2 separate regions of the Homo sapiens genome follow, and region 2 is linked to region 1. The links are contacts of gene promoters, found by promoter capture Hi-C in blood cells and fetal thymus (Javierre and others, 2016). All regions are on one chromosome and are shown on one strand. Each heading gives the region's core, a stretch centred on a gene start or on the middle of the fragment in contact. The rest is flanking DNA. Distances are from core to core; before and after follow the strand shown.

Region 1 (2,815 bases), core at 197-2,696:
AATGAGCAAAAGACTAAGTAGCTAGCTTCCTCGTTTGTATTTTAAGAGTGGTGAAAACTGCCTGAAATAATAAACAAGAATCTTATATGTTAATTCAGAGAAGATACAAACCTGGATACACATTCTGGGGCAAATCACCATGGTTTCCTATGTAAAACAGCGATTTCTCCACATTTGTTCAGCATATATACTAACAGTGCTTTGCTGATGTGGTTACAATGAATTCTCCACAATTCAATTCAACAAGTATTTATTGACCGCCTCCAATCCGCCTAGCACTGGCCCGTACAATAAATGCTTTCTTTGGTCCCAGGCCATGGAACAGCCACTCTCTATAATGAAAGTATCTTACTGTGTACAGGGGGCACTGCAGGAAAGGGAGGGGAGGGATGGAGGAGTGTCAAGCTAAACTGTAGTTAATTCTTCAATTACATTGACCAAATCATTTCGAAGTCGGAAGGGCCTTTTGAGAAAATCCAGTTAGTTTTTATTGATGACGAAATTAAGACTTGGTGAGTGTCTCGTCTTATCCAAGGTCACTCAGCTAATCAGTCTCCTAGTGACACAGTGCAATTTCCACAAATTCCCTTCACTTCTCACCCCACTCCATGTCAAACAGAGCAACTATCCAGAATTGAAAAATCCACCTAACGTCCCGGACAGCTCTTTTCCAAAGCCTTCAAAGCATTCCATCAAGCTGAAAGAGTGGGGTGTATATAATCTCTACTAGATCCCAATCACCTATTTATCCACTATGACTAGGCTTCAAATACTCTTTAATCACCGCTCAGTGATGAGGGTGGGAGAAGGAAAGGCAGGTCTGGAAACGTATGCGGCACCTCAAAATGTGTCCATCTCTCATCCTTCCGCTCATTTCACCTCGAGGTCCCGAAGGAACCGGGGGGGGAAAAAGACACCTCACCGGAATCAAAGCAAATGGCGACTAAGGGAGAGCAGAAAAATCAAGACCGGGGTCGGTTCGCTCGCGACCCCGTTTGCAGAAACGTCAAAGGGCGATGACGACACTGCGGGAGAGGGGCCCACAGACGGCTTCTCCCCGGGTCTCCGGGCACCCTCAGCCACTGAAACCCTCGCCCCCTCCCCGCCTGATCCTGGGGGTGGGGCGGGGACGTCTCCCAGGAAGAACGGCGCTTTCTACGGCCGGGCCCGGCCAGGAGGCAGGGGCATGGACTCTCTTCGCACAACAGCGGGGCCGCCTGGAGGGGGTCCCAGGGCCGCAGCTGCGGAGCCCACCCTCGCGCACACACCCTTGCGGCCCCGCCCTCCCACCCCAGAGGCCGGCCCCAAGTCTCACCGTGAGCCCCGGGAGCGGCCTGGGGGCGCTGGGCGAGAAAGGGGAGCTGACTCTGGGGCTCAGGCCGGCCGAAGGGCACCGCACACGGACTTAGGCCCTCCCGACGCCTCGACACAGACACAATGAGTCACAAAGGCCGGAAGCGTGTCACCACCTCGTCTTCCGGGACCGCGCCGCGCTTCCGGGTCCTCTCTAGGAGCGCGGGAGGACTTTGCATCTCGGTTTCCGAATCGCTGGACCAGGCGCCTGCCCTTGAGTTTTCAAGCCTCCAGCTTGGAGGATCAGGTCCCAGTCCGCCCCTAGTTAATGCAGGGACTAACGGGAGCAGGTGGTGGGGGGTTTCAGGCTTTCCCCTACTCAAACTCAAACAGACTCTCCAGCTCAGACACCAGTCCATGTGAAAGTTCGATTTCACCTGTCTTTTTCATCTCAGGCAGTCCTTGTAGTAATTATAGTTATTATCAAGCAATATAGTACTTGGTAATTGTATGTCTGTGGCAAAGGAACTGAAACAAGGATGTAGACTGAGGAAGATCAAAGTGAAGCCAAGGGTGGCTGGTTTCCCAAAGCTGCCACGGTAGCTTCTCTCAGGGCCCTGGAGCTATATGGAGTGGTATTTTCAAATACTTGGCCCGTGGACAAGGGATGTCTTTCCACAAGCAAGCATAGTTATAAGGTTCTGTGCTTTGCTCATGTGGCATATGCTATTATAGCCGTTTAAAAGGAGTTTTCAGAGTAACAACAGACACTTTTACCTTCAAAGTGCTTTCACAACCTACCACAGTTACAGCCTTCATCTTTGCCTTGCAGGGTAAGGCACGCATAAGAGGGGGCCACGTTGTGCAAGGGTGGGGGGGACTACAGGCTTTAATGGTTGTGACTTTCCACTATGTTCCGAGACAAGTTCATGGGAGAAACTCAGTAGCTTGGTTGCATGACTCTTACTGCTTGGAGAGATTTACTTTTTTTTTTTAGATGGAGTCTCGCTCTGTCACCCAGCCTGCAGTGCAGTGGCACCATCTTGGCTCACTGCAACCTCCACCTCCCAGGTTCAAGCGATTCTCCTGCCTTAGCCTCCTGAGTACCTGGGACTACAGGCGCACACCACCATGCCTGGTTAATTTTTGTATTTTTGGTAGAGAACAGGGTTTCACCATATTGGCCAGGATGGTCTCGATCTACTGACCTTGTGATCCACCCGCCTCAGCCTCCCAAAGTGCTGGAATTACAGGCGTGAGCCACCGTGCCCGGCCAGATTTACTTTTTAAAAAATGTTTGAAAACTAAAAAGCAATGACAGGGCCAGACACGATGACTCAAGCCTGTAATCTTAGCACTTCGGGAGGCTGGGACGGGAGGATTCTTGAGCCCAAGAGTTGGAGACCAGCCTAAGCAACGTAATGAGACCCTCTCTCTACAAAAAATACTAAAATTAGCTGGGTGCAGGGTAGTGTGTGCCAGTGGTCCCAGCTGCTTGGGAGGCTGAGGTAGAAGGATAGAT
Region 2 (2,815 bases), core at 119-2,618, 92 kb after region 1:
TTTGCTCATCGCCCAGGCTGGAGTGCAATGGCAGGATCACTGCAATCTCTGCCTCCCAGGTTCAAGCAGTTCTCCTGCCTCAGCCTCCTGAATAGCTGGGATTACAGGCGTGCACCACCATGCCTGGCTAATTTTTGTATTTTTAGCAGAGACGGGGTTTCACCATGTCGGCCAAGCTGGTCTCGAACTCCTGACCTCAGGTGATCCACCCACTCAGCCTCCCAAAGTGCTGGGATTACAGGCGTGAGCCACCGTGCCCACCAACTACTCCCTTTTTAGGCATGGGCTGCACATAGTGACTTCCCACTAAACAGTAAAATAGGGGGAGGGGAAAGAATAACTTTACAGGGAGAAACCCATCAAATACTACCTCAGCCGGGTGATCAAGGTTAACATCAACAGTGATGAGCAATGTTGACAGCATGTGCCCCGGATATGATGTGATGACGGTTTTTGTATTTTCCCGTTCTAAAATTTCCATGGGGCTATTCTTTGTATTTTCTATTACTTCTCTGAGACTTTTAAACTTTCCATTTGAATAGCAGCTTTATAGTCTTGATAATTCCAACATGTGTGGCAACTTACATTCTGCATCTGTTACATTTTTTCCCAACGTGAGTTGAGATTTTCCTGGTTCTTCACCTGCCAATTAATATCGATTGTATCCTGGACATTTTGAATGTCATTAGGATGCTCTGGGTCTTGGTTAAATTTGGTGGAGGATGTTGATATTTATGTTTTAAAGGGTAATTAACCCATTTGGGTTCAAGTCATAAGTTTTGACCAGCCTTCTGAGGGTTGTGGTTCCAATGTCAGTTCAGTTTTCAAAGCCTTTGTAGTACTCTTCTGATAGGTCCCACATGGGTGGCACCTAAAGTGTAACCCAGGGTCCTTGGGTTTTGGGTACGCACTGTGAAAAAGTTACACACTTGTAACTGTTACATCTTGAATTTTTGTTTTAAAAAGTTCCAGGAAGAAGCTTAGCCCAGGAAAAACAAAGACCAGTTGGACCCAGAGATGCCTGAGTTGGAGATGAACTTTGGCCAACTTTCCTCATCACCATACTTAAAATCCTGTCCAAGGAGGAGCTTATTCACCATTTTCTATACATGTGACATATGTAGCAGCATAACCGACAACTGGGACTGCGCTGCCTTGACTCCACCTCTACATACAATGACTCAGCTAACCAGACTAATAAAAGCCATGTTTGCACCATTGCTCAGGGAGGCATTGCTTTGGGGAATTATTCCCAGTGTCCTCCTTACTTATCGCAAGTAATAAAATCCCCCTGGGAAATCCTCCTTGGTTGTGGTCATTGGACTGTCCCCTGCCAAGCAATTTAACCCATTCATTGTGTGGGTAACAAAAGGCCAGTCTGGGACATGAGATCTGGGTCTACAGTTTAGTTCTCAAAGTCTTTGGCATGCAATTTAGGACCAGATTCATCATACCAAAAAAGGGAGATAGTCTCAACAGAATTCTCAAATTACTTAAATATCAGAGGCAGTGTAGAGAAGGAGTACTTGGTGGTATGGTAGGTTTTCTGACAGGAAACAAAAGATGGAGGTAAAATGGAACCAGTACTTTCTTTCTGAGAATACTGACTGCACCAACCATAACATGAAGCGAAGGCTATATCTCCCTGAAGTAAGAAATGTAATAAAGGAAACTTTCAGAAATAATAGATCATCTGGAGATGTTGGGCAGTGTATTTGGTAAGTTATAACTACCAGGTATCAATACAATAAGCTTAGTTTGAATACAATAAGCTTAGTTTCTTTTTAAAGAATTTATCCTGCTCTGTGTTCTCTGAGCTCCTTGGATTGGTTTGGTGTCTTACAAATTTTGGAAATTCTCAGCCATTATTTCTTGATTTTTTTTTTTTTTTTGAGATAGAGTCTTGCTCTGTCGCCCAGGCTGGAGTGCAGTGGTGTGATCTCAGCTCACTGCAAGCTCCGCCTCCCGGGTTCACGCAATTCTCTTACCTCAGCCTCCCGAGTAGCTGGGACGACAGGTGCCTGCTACCATGCCCGGCTAATTTTTTTGAATTTTTAGTAGAGACGGGGTTTCACTGCGTTAGCTAGGATGGTCTCGATCTCCTGACCTCGTGATCTGCCTGCCTCGGCCTCCCCAAGTGCTGGGATTACAGGGGTGAGCCACTGCGCCTATTTCTTGATTTGATGTTGATATTTTCCCACCAGTCTTGGATGCTGTGTTCTGTTTCTGTCACTCTTTTTGTGTGTGTGTGTGTGTGTGTTTCAGCAATTTCTATTTACCTACCTTCAAGTCTGATTTTTTCCTCAACTGTGTTCAGTCTCCTAATGGGCCCATGGAGGGCATTCTTCATCTCTATTATTATATTTTTTATTTTTATAGTTTCCATTTTATTTTTCCTGATAGTTTCCATCTATTTGCTAAAATCACCCATCTGAGCTTGCATTTTGTTCACCTTTCCCCTTAGGGCCTTCATCACATTAATCACAGTTATTTAAAATTCTCTCATATTTCTAATGTCTATGTCTTATGAATCTGGTTCTAATGATTGTTTTATCTCTTTGGACTGTGTTTTTTCTTGCCTTTCTGTATGCGTCTTTTTTTCTTTCTGTTAAAAGTTAGTCATGTTGTATTTTTTTTGCTTAAATTATTTTTTCAATTCTCTCTTCACAGTATGAAGTAAAGATTGTTTTTATGCTTGGAGATGAGTGTGTCTTTCCTTCTGCTAGGCCTTTAGTGCTCTTGAGTGCATAGCAGTGGTTCGGTGGTATCAGTCTAGTCAGAAATTGGGCTAGGTTTACAGTTTGTTGTTGTGGTT

What was found. The method cuts DNA at HindIII sites, captures the fragments that hold promoters and counts their contacts. A CHiCAGO score of 5 or more calls a contact.
Region 2: a fragment that was not itself captured here is called in contact with the fragment with the promoter of ZKSCAN1 in region 1 in 1 of 17 cell types (M1 macrophages); the score reaches 5.2 in M1 macrophages.

The regions. Positions count from the first base shown.
Region 1 is chr7:100,014,227-100,017,041 of GRCh38, reverse strand. ZKSCAN1 (zinc finger with KRAB and SCAN domains 1) reads right to left here and starts at 1,446. Exons shown (of 6, transcript NM_003439.4): 1 at 1,316-1,446. RefSeq lists a silencer at 1,191-1,360. The HindIII fragment of the contact is 19,683 bases long and covers 1-2,815 here.
Region 2 is chr7:99,921,755-99,924,569 of GRCh38, reverse strand. GJC3 (gap junction protein gamma 3) reads left to right here. Exons shown (of 2, transcript NM_181538.3): 2 at 967-1,304. The coding sequence ends at 1,025. LOC101927610 (a long non-coding RNA gene) reads right to left here. Exons shown (of 2, transcript XR_001745296.3): 2 at 1-2,815. Among named protein-coding and RNA genes, the nearest start is that of TRIM4, 3.6 kb to the right of the region's middle. The HindIII fragment of the contact is 773 bases long and covers 982-1,754 here.